2 separate regions of the Homo sapiens genome follow, and region 2 is linked to region 1. The links are contacts of gene promoters, found by promoter capture Hi-C in human tissues and cell types (Jung and others, 2019). All regions are on one chromosome and are shown on one strand. Each heading gives the region's core, a stretch centred on a gene start or on the middle of the fragment in contact. The rest is flanking DNA. Distances are from core to core; before and after follow the strand shown. Region 1 holds the start of TIMELESS (timeless circadian regulator). Region 2 overlaps BAZ2A (bromodomain adjacent to zinc finger domain 2A).

Region 1 (4,555 bases), core at 1,534-4,033:
CAGGGGCTGATGGGGGTGGGGTGGAATAGGCAGTTGTTTAATGGGTATAGAGTTACAGCTTTGCAAGATGAAAAAGTTCTAGACATAGGTTGCACAACAATGTGAATATACTTAACACTACTAAACTGTACACTTAAAAACATATATATATTTTTTTGAGATGGAGTCTCCCTCTGTCACCCAGGCTGGAGTGCAGTGGAGCTTGATCTCAGGATCTCAGCTCACTGCAACCTCCGCCTCCTGGGTTCAAGCAATTCTCCTGCCTCAGCCTCCTGAGTAGCTGGGATTTCAGGCGCCTGCCACCACGCCCAGCTACTTTTTGTATTTTTAGTAGAGATGGGGTTTCTCCCTGTTGGTCAGGCTGTTCTCAAATGGCTGACCTTGTGATCCGCCCGTCTTGTGATCCGCCCGTCTCAGCCTCCCAAAGTGCTGGGATTACAGGCATAAGCCACTGCGCCTGTCCAAAAATATTTAATATGGTAAATTTTATATGTGTTTTACCACAATGTATAAAATTTTTTTGAAAGCAACATACAAACTAGTGCAAATTGATAACAAATAGAATATACACATGCTAAGGTGTGGGATAAAGGAGTAATTTGATGAATCAGAAAATAAATGGTGAGTTTATTGTAGATATCAAGTGTACAATATCTTGTTTTCCACTAAGGTGGCTGGAAAAAGAGCAGCGTTGCTACTCTGTCCCCTCCCCAAGCCTGAGTATTCCTTTTCTCTTTCTACAGGTGTACTGGGTAGGCCCAATCATTGGAGGGGGTCTGGGCAGCCTCCTGTACGACTTTCTTCTCTTCCCCCGGCTCAAGAGTATTTCTGAGAGACTGTCTGTCCTCAAGGGTGCCAAACCCGATGTCTCCAATGGACAACCAGAGGTCACAGGGGAACCTGTTGAACTGAACACCCAGGCCCTGTAGAAGCTCCAGCTGAATAGAGGGAGTAGAAAGCTTCTGAGTTTACGTGGAGGGGTTTAGCCAGCCCCTAGATGAAGAAAGAGACTGTGGGGAGGGTCATGTACTTCTTTATTTTTTAACTTATGTATGTGGTTGTTTTTTTTTTTTTTTTCCTTTTGCTGTGTGAAATCTTTCAAGTTGCATTCATGAGCTGGTTGGTGCAAACTTCCCTTCCTCCCCATCCCACCACCCTTCGCCGTGTGTGCTGATTGTGCATATGAATGTGAGTGTGGCTGTGTCTGAGTTTTGGGGCATGAGAGCTAAGGAAGCAAAAAGAGGTGCCATCCTATACCTCCCTTCCTCGACCCAGTATGGTGAGTACTGGGTAACCGACACCTTAAGTTTCTGGCCTTTACCCTGCTGCCAGTCAAGTGTGTGGCTCTTGATTTCTGAGGGAACAGAGAAGCAGGGAGTTACTCCTCACACGAGGCAGATGGAGAGAAGTGGAGGAGACAAGGCTTCCAAGGGTTAGGAGAAGGGACTCAAGGGAGGTGGGTGGTGAAAACGGAGTATTAGCCCCAGATCAGGATGTAGGTGTACCGAAGAATTGGGGGGAAGTTAATGGGAATATATAGCCTACTTATCTTAGGGATGCTTGCCCCAGGGACTTGGGTGGGGAAGTAGCTCTGAGAAAAGTGAACACTAGGATTTAGCTGTTCTGTAAAGCCACGTAAACCTGTCTACATCCGCTGGCTGGTTGTGTTCATTCTGACATAATGGATCTCTTCAGAGGTCCTGGGCCAAAGAGCTTCCAACCTAAATAGAGCTTGGGCAAGCCTAGAATCTAGAAAAATTAAGCAGCTTAACTGGTCAGCCTGACATCCACTGTTGTGGCTGCCTGGCAGATGGTATTTAAGCCCCACAATTGTTCCCTAAGGCCAACACAGGAAATCTGATTCCTGGAGCAAATAAATGAACGGGTGGTAGTAGGGGGCATGAGGGGAGAGGCTTTGACTCTGTTCTAATTTATTTAGAGCAAATCAAAACACTCCTCAAATGGCATCTTTCTGCTTTTATCACTAGTTCCGTGTTTTTTTTCTTGTTTTGTGTCTGTGTATTTTCATTTCTCTGTCATCCGTCCTTTCATCTTGAAGCAAATCTCTTCTAACTCCCTCATACCCCAGAAATTGATTCCTTCTATTCAAATGCTTAATAATTCAGGAGATTATTATTTGTTTGAGCCCTATCTTCTTTTTTTTTTTGAGAGGGGGTCTTACTATGTTGACCAGGTTGGAGTGCAATGGATATTCACAGGCACGATCATCGCACACTACAGTCTAGAAATCCTGGGCTCAAGCGATCTTCCTGCTTCAGCCTCCCCAGTAGCTGGGATTACAGGGGGCCAGAGCACAGCCCTATTTTCTTTTCCTTTTGGCAAGATCATCTCAGCAGAGGCCAGAAGAGACCCTCAACTGTTCAATGAATATTTACGGTTGCTTTCTTCCTTTTATGAGCCTCTTGCATACTTTGAAAGCTTTAAATTTATACCTATAATACAACGGACATCCCCTATCCCAGAAGACCATTCCTCCCTGTACTTCAGCTCTTTACTTCCTCCCAAATAAAACCTAACTTTTCTAACTAACTATTTAAGACTTGGAATAGTCCGCTTGACTAGAAGAAGGGGAAGAATGTTTGTAAATTCACCTCTAATCGGACTTTGATTCTACTATAATTCAGCAGAAAATTCATAGCGCTGTGATTTTTAGATCGACCTCACATAAAACAGTCCCTGCACTCGCTTCCCTTTTCCTTCCTTCTTCACCAATCTCCGCCCCAGTTCGCTCGGAGTCACGTGGACCAGCCCGGCTCGCCCCGCCTCGCTCTTCGCGCAGGCGGGGACCGGTCCAGCTGAGCCTGGTGGCGGAAAGGCTGCGGCCCCGCGCCAGAGGGCCGGTGGCTCCTCCGGGCTTCTGAGGACCCGCAGGGAGCGGGTGAGTGAGTGTGTGGCGAGAGGGCGCTAAGCGGACACGGGGATCCTTTCGAAGCTATGGGGGCATTCTCGGGAAACGCTGAGTCCCTTTTCCCGCCACCCGGTTTAGAGCCAGGGGGCGGGGCTCGTGCTGCAGGCGCGCACGCGCAATTCTGTACTCTGCTCCTTAGTCTCCCGCGCCGCGTTCCCGGGTCTCACCGGACGCGGGCTTAGCCCTACGCTGCTCCGCACAGCTTGGGTCTCCCGCGGGATGGGGTTGTGATGGAAAGGGGCTTGGAATTCCTGAATTAGAACAGAAAGTGCCTGAGGGAGTTCCACTTCGGAGCTTAGCATCTAGTTGAGACCTCCTGAAAAAAACCGGTGTGTGGCCTGGCGGTCAGCAGTGGTCGGAATTCACAGGCCGCTTTACTTATATCGTGGGTTTTATGGAACGGATTTCTCACTCCCTCCCTTCGTTGCCTTGTTCGGGTTTGTCACCTGGACCTCAGCCGCTAATGAAGCTTTTTTCCTTGAGCCTCTCAATTCTTTGCCATTCGTGCTTCGACTAGTACTTTCAATTTTTTATTTATTTTATTTTATTTTGAGACGGAGTCTCGTTCTGTCGCCCAGGATGGAGTGCAGTGGCGCCATCTCGGCTCACTGCAACCTCCGCCTCCCGGGTTCAAGCGATTCTCTTGCCTCAGCTTCCTGAGTAGCTGGGATTACAGGCGCGCGCCACCATGCCCGGCTAATTTTTGTATTTTTTTTAGTAGAGATGGGGGTTTCACCTTATTGGTCAGGATGATCTCAAACTCCTGACTTCGTGATCCGCCCGCCTCGGCCTCCCAAAGTGCTGGGATTATAGGCGTGAGCCACCGCGCCTGGCCTGTTTGTTTTTTTTGGTTGTTTTGTTTTGTTTTGTTTTTGAGATGGAGTCTGGCTCTGTCGCCCAGGCTGGAGTGCAGTGGTCCGATCTCGGCTCACTGCAACCTCCGCCTCCCCAGTTCAAGCGATTCTCCTGCCTCAGCCTCCCCAGGAGCTGGGATTACAGCTGCCCGCCACCACGCCCGGCTAATTTTTGTATTTTTAGTAGAGATGGGGTTTCACCATGTTGGCCAGGCCGGTCTCGAACTCCTGACCTCAAATGATCCGCCCGCGTCGGCCTCCCACAGTGCTGGGATTACGGGTGTGAGCCACCACACCCGGCCCTACTAGTACTTTGTACAAAGTAAAGGTAGATCATCTGATGTTAAATTTAAAACTCCTCTTTGACCACCCACAGTTAGCCTTAAATCCGTAGGTGGGTGTCTGTGGCCTCTCAGTCTGGCCCTGACCCTCTCAATCTCATTTTGTAAATCTCTTACGCACCTGACTCCTGGCCACGTGGAAAGATTGTGGCTGCCCTCTTTCATATCTCAGTACTTAGTTCCTGCTGTTCCTTCTGCTTGGAAGATCTTGACACTGCTCTGCCAAGCGAACTTCTCTTTGAAGACTGAGCTTAATTGTCCCTCTGAAAATCAATGTATCCAGCTTCCTATGCCAAGTTAGTCACTTCTTCCTGTGTGTCCCTGAAGTTTTTTACCCCCCTCTATTACCAGGGGCACTGATACAGCTCAATAAAAGATCAATAAAAGGTTACTGAGCTCCTAACATGTACCATGCACTGTGCTTAGCGCCA
Region 2 (4,555 bases), core at 1,531-4,030, 170 kb before region 1:
TACAGGCGCGCGCCACCATGCCCGGCTAATTTTTGTATTTTTAGTAGAGACGGGGTTTCACCGTGTTAGCCAGGATGGTCTCGATCTCCTGACCTCATGATCCGCCCGTCTCGGCCTCCCAAAGTGCTGGGATTACAGGCGTGAGCCAAGAAGTTTTTAAAAGATAGATGGTCTTCCTACTTTTAGTCTTTTGAGGTTGGACTCTGTAACCTGCCTCATGAATGGGGTCCTTAACCTGCCTGCTTAGCTCATATTTGGGGGTGGAAAGGGTGGAGTCCTTAACTGTTAGAGTTTAAATTCTGGCTGGGCACGGTGGCTCAGCCTGCAGTCGCAGCACTTTGGGAGGCTGAGGCGTGCGGATCACCTGAAGTCAGGAGTTCAAGACCAGCCTGACCAACATGGTGAAACCCTGTCTCTACTAAAAATATGAAAATTAGCCGGGTGTGATGGTGGGCGCCTGTAATCCCAGCTACTTGGGAGGCTGAGGCAGGAGAATTGCTTGAACCGGGGAGATGGAGGTTGCAGTGAGCAGAGATCGTGCCACTGCACCCCAGCCTGGGCAACAGAGCCACACTGTCTCAAAAAAAAAAAAAAAAAAAAAGAAATTCTAAGAAACAATCAGAGCTGAAAGAGGGAAATTACCTTAATATAACCTCTGGACTGTGGCTTTTAGTGTCCTGCAATTTCAGAGGCATTCCTGGTCTTCTGAGAGTAAAGTGACTGGAAATGTGGCAGAAAACTTAACCTGTAGTTTCTTTAATTAACAAATATATAAAAACCTATTATATGCCTCAAGTGTTCAGTTAAACCAAGTAGAATGTTTTATTAATTCAGAGCTTACGTTTATTTATTTTTTTATTTGGTTGAAAACGGTGGTGTGATCATAGCCCACTGCAGCCTCCAGGTCCTGGACTCAAATAATCCTCCCACCTCAGCCTCCGGAGAACCTGGCACTACAGGCATATGCCACCATGCCTAGCTAATTTATTGGCTTTTTACATTATCAGTACTTCCCTATTTTCAGGCCTTATTTTCTTCAAGGAATGGCTATTTAAGTACGTCAAGATTTGAGGCCTTTCTTCTCTCTTGAAATTTTTATCTCTGTGAAGAATGAAGCTGAGTTTTTTTTTTTTTTTTTTGTTCTCTGAAAATAGTAAGAGCAAAGCCCATGACCTTCATTGGATAAGTAAGCTGGTAGTGGCAGAAAAGGTAGATTTACTCATTCATTTCTTCAGTCCATGGACTCAACAAATATTTCCTTTGGTTCTTTTGTATACTTAGCACTAAATTAGGTGCTAGGGATATAATGGTGGAACTTATATCCAACTGATGCTGTGGAACCGACATAATGTAGAAGAAATAAGGACAGAGAACAGTCATCTTTGAATTCTTCTGAACAGCCTGGACGTGACAGTTTTCTTTGAGTAGCCCCCTCTTAGTATAATCTTCCTTCTTTCATTATCTTTGTTCTGCCTCACTTGGAGTCCTGACTAGGGAAGGTAGTTAAGGAGAGGATGGATATTTTGAGCCTCAGTCAGTATATGATATAGTTTGTCCGAGTCAGAGTTCAAGGGAAGCTTGTTACTAGGGCACTCAGAATGGGTTATCGTGATTGGAGAAGAGGGCATATTTATTCTGTGGCTTGGTACTTGGAATTTTTTTTTTTTTTTTAGTGTAGAGATAGGGTCTCACTGTGTTGCGCAGGCCAGTCTTGAATTCCTGGCCTCAAGTGATCCTGCTGAGGTTATAGGCATGAGCCACCTCTCCCAGCCTACATGGAACTCTTATTGGTGGAGGAACATGGCTTAGCCAGGGAGATGAGGTTTTTAGATACAAAAGCCAAAGCGTCCTCATTTGCAGTGTCAGGAACTGGGAACAGTGAAAACTTGGAACTTTCCCAAGGTGTGGGGCAGGAATGGGACAGCTTTTACATTAGAACAGGGTTTCTCAGCCTTGGCACTATTGATAACGTGGGCCAGATAATATCTTCGTTGTGGGGGGCGCTGTCCTGTTTGTTGAAGGACGCCTAGCAGCATCTTTGGCTTCTGCTTACTAGATGCCAGTAGCACATACCTTCAGAGATTACTAAATGTCCCCTACGGGGCAGAATTGCCCCTGATGAGAACCTCTGTATTAGAGTGTGGTGGGTAATCCAGAGATGTGTAGAGTTAAGAAATATCCTTCATGATGTTCACAATTACAAAGCTAAAATGTAGTGGTGTGATTTTTACTCTAGAATTTGCCTTTGCTGTTTAGTCAAGATAAACATTTGAAATCTCTCTCACCCCCCAACCCCATTTGTGAGATTTTGATGTACTACATGAGAAGAATGAACCCAAGAGCTGCAGGGACCACTGCAGTATCCAGCTGGAGGGTGTTAATGTGTCTTGTTGTCCTGGGGGGTAGCCTCAGAGGCTGGAGGGTTAGAATTGGTCAGGGAGGACACCTGTAACAGTGTTGCAATATATAATATTTATTTCAACACTTTGTGCATTGTCAGCCTTTTTCTTTTTTTTTTTTGAGATGGAGTCTCGCTCTGTCGCCCAGACTGGAGTGCAGTGACGCGATCTCGGCTCACTGCAACCTCCACCTCCCGGGTTCACGCCATTCTCCTGCCTCAGCCTCCCGAGTAGGTAGGACTACAGGTGCCCGCCACCACGCCTGGCTAATTTTTTCTATTTTTAGTAGAGACAGGGTTTCACCGTGTTAGCCAGGATGGTCTCGATCTCTTGACCTCGTGATCCGCTCACCTCGGCCTCCCAAAGTGCTGGGATTACACGAGCCACTGCTCTTGGTGTTGTCAGCCTTTTTCTATTAAACCATGTCACAGGCCCACAGAGTAGCAGCTCTTTGATTGGAACTGGGAGAAAAGCAACCTATTCGGCCCTGTGGGGAGGGCTTTATTGCTTCAAGCTTATAGGGCAATGTCCCTTACTCTTATAAATGAAACATAGGAGCTCTTAAAAGATCCATTTATGTATAGCTGGGACTGGGCTGGGTGCTTGAATGAATGTACTTCCTGGTATGAGAGTCATCTGCTACTCTAGGGGTTGGGCACTGGCTGATTTCTTTTCTCATTTGGTGAAAATCCTATTAGTTCAAAGGGAGATGCTCTCCTTTGCTTTACTGTTCTTACTAGCTCTGGATGGGAGGACAGAGTTTACCTTTAGGGTTTATTGTGAAAAGCATCTTGAGTAGGAAGGTTAAAATGAAATAAACCTAGGTTCATTGTTGAGAGGAGGTGTTCACATGTTTTTCGTATTCCCATACTGTGACATAATTAATTCCCATATTTAAGTGACATCTGAAATCAGGAGTCAAATTGTATATAAGGAAGTCTGGCTGGATCATCCCTAGTTTTAAATTATATTTATTTTATATGTAGACCGTTTAGACCTGATTATCTTTTTTTTTTGGAGATAGAGTGTTGCTCTGTCACCCAGGCTAGAGTGCAATGGTGCGATCTCAGCTCACTGCAACCTCCATCTCCTGGATTCAAGCAATTCTCCTGCCTCAGCCTCCTGAGTAGCTGGGATTACAGGTGCCCGCCACCACGCCCAGCTAATTTTTTGTAATTTTAATAGAGATGGGGTTTCGCCATGTTGGCCAGGCTGGTTTCGAACTCTTGACTTCAGGTGATCCACCCACCTTGGCCTCCCAAAGTGCTGGGATTACAGGCGTGAACCACTGCGCCTGGCCAGGCCTGATTATCTTTTTGAAAACTACACAGTCTTTTACTGTTTGTCTAATAATAGTAGCTAATGTAGTCCTGGTAAGGTGGCTCACGCCTGTAATCCCAGCACTTTGGGAGGTCAAGGTGGGAGAATTGCTTGAGGCCAGGAATTTGAGACCATCATGGGCAACATAGCGAGACCCTGTGTCTACAAAAAAATTTAAAAATTAGCCAGGTGTGGTGGTGAGCACCTGTAGTCCTAGCTACTTGGGAAGCTGAGGCAGGAGGATTACTGGAGCCCAGGAGTTCCAGGCTGCAGTGAGCTATGATCATGCCACTGCACACCACTCTGGATGACAGAGTGAGACTCTGTCTCAAGAAGAAAAAAAAAAAACTAACGTTTATGGAGTGCTTGCTGGATGACAGACACTGTGCTGGGGCTCTAATTTAGATTTTCTCATTTCATCCTCACCAGTCCTTAAAAGTGGGTACAAAAATTGTTACAGATGATGAAACTTAGGCCCAGCAAGTATAAGTAACTTGTCCAAGGTTAAACAGCTAGCTAGTAAATAGTAGAGTTGGGATTTGAACCTAGAGCCCACTACATTGTGCTGACCACATTGCATAGCACAAAGACAATTTTATGTGTCTAGGAAGCTTCTCGTAAATGAAGTGGTTGTGGTTCTGATGACAGTTCAGAAGAGACAGGTGGAGAAACTGATCTCACATACTAAATAACTTCCCATTCTTTTTAATTCTCTGATTTCTGTGAGCCATCGACATGTTGTTATTAATATTTACAAAAACAGGATATGCTGTGCTTTTCCAGAGCAGCAGAGAGGAGGTCACAACTTTGTTCTTGGATTCAAATAGAGAATGGAA

What was found. Contacts are between HindIII fragments. The study calls those that stand out against the background at their distance.
Region 2: a contact is called between a fragment that was not itself captured here and the fragment with the promoter of TIMELESS in region 1, in 2 of the 25 tissues and cell types used here (H1 embryonic stem cells and dorsolateral prefrontal cortex).

What each region holds. Positions count from the first base shown.
Region 1 is chr12:56,447,654-56,452,208 of GRCh38, reverse strand. It overlaps TIMELESS (timeless circadian regulator), which reads left to right and starts at 2,783. Exons shown (of 29, transcript NM_003920.5): 1 at 2,783-2,899. It overlaps MIP (major intrinsic protein of lens fiber), which reads left to right. Exons shown (of 4, transcript NM_012064.4): 4 at 744-2,707. The coding sequence ends at 929. RefSeq lists enhancers at 3,040-3,129, 3,240-3,359, 3,382-3,902. The HindIII fragment of the contact is 11,879 bases long and covers 1,700-4,555 here.
Region 2 is chr12:56,621,201-56,625,755 of GRCh38, reverse strand. All of the region lies in intron 1 of BAZ2A (bromodomain adjacent to zinc finger domain 2A), which reads left to right. Among named protein-coding and RNA genes, the nearest start is that of BAZ2A, 6.8 kb to the left of the region's middle. The HindIII fragment of the contact is 4,679 bases long and covers 441-4,555 here.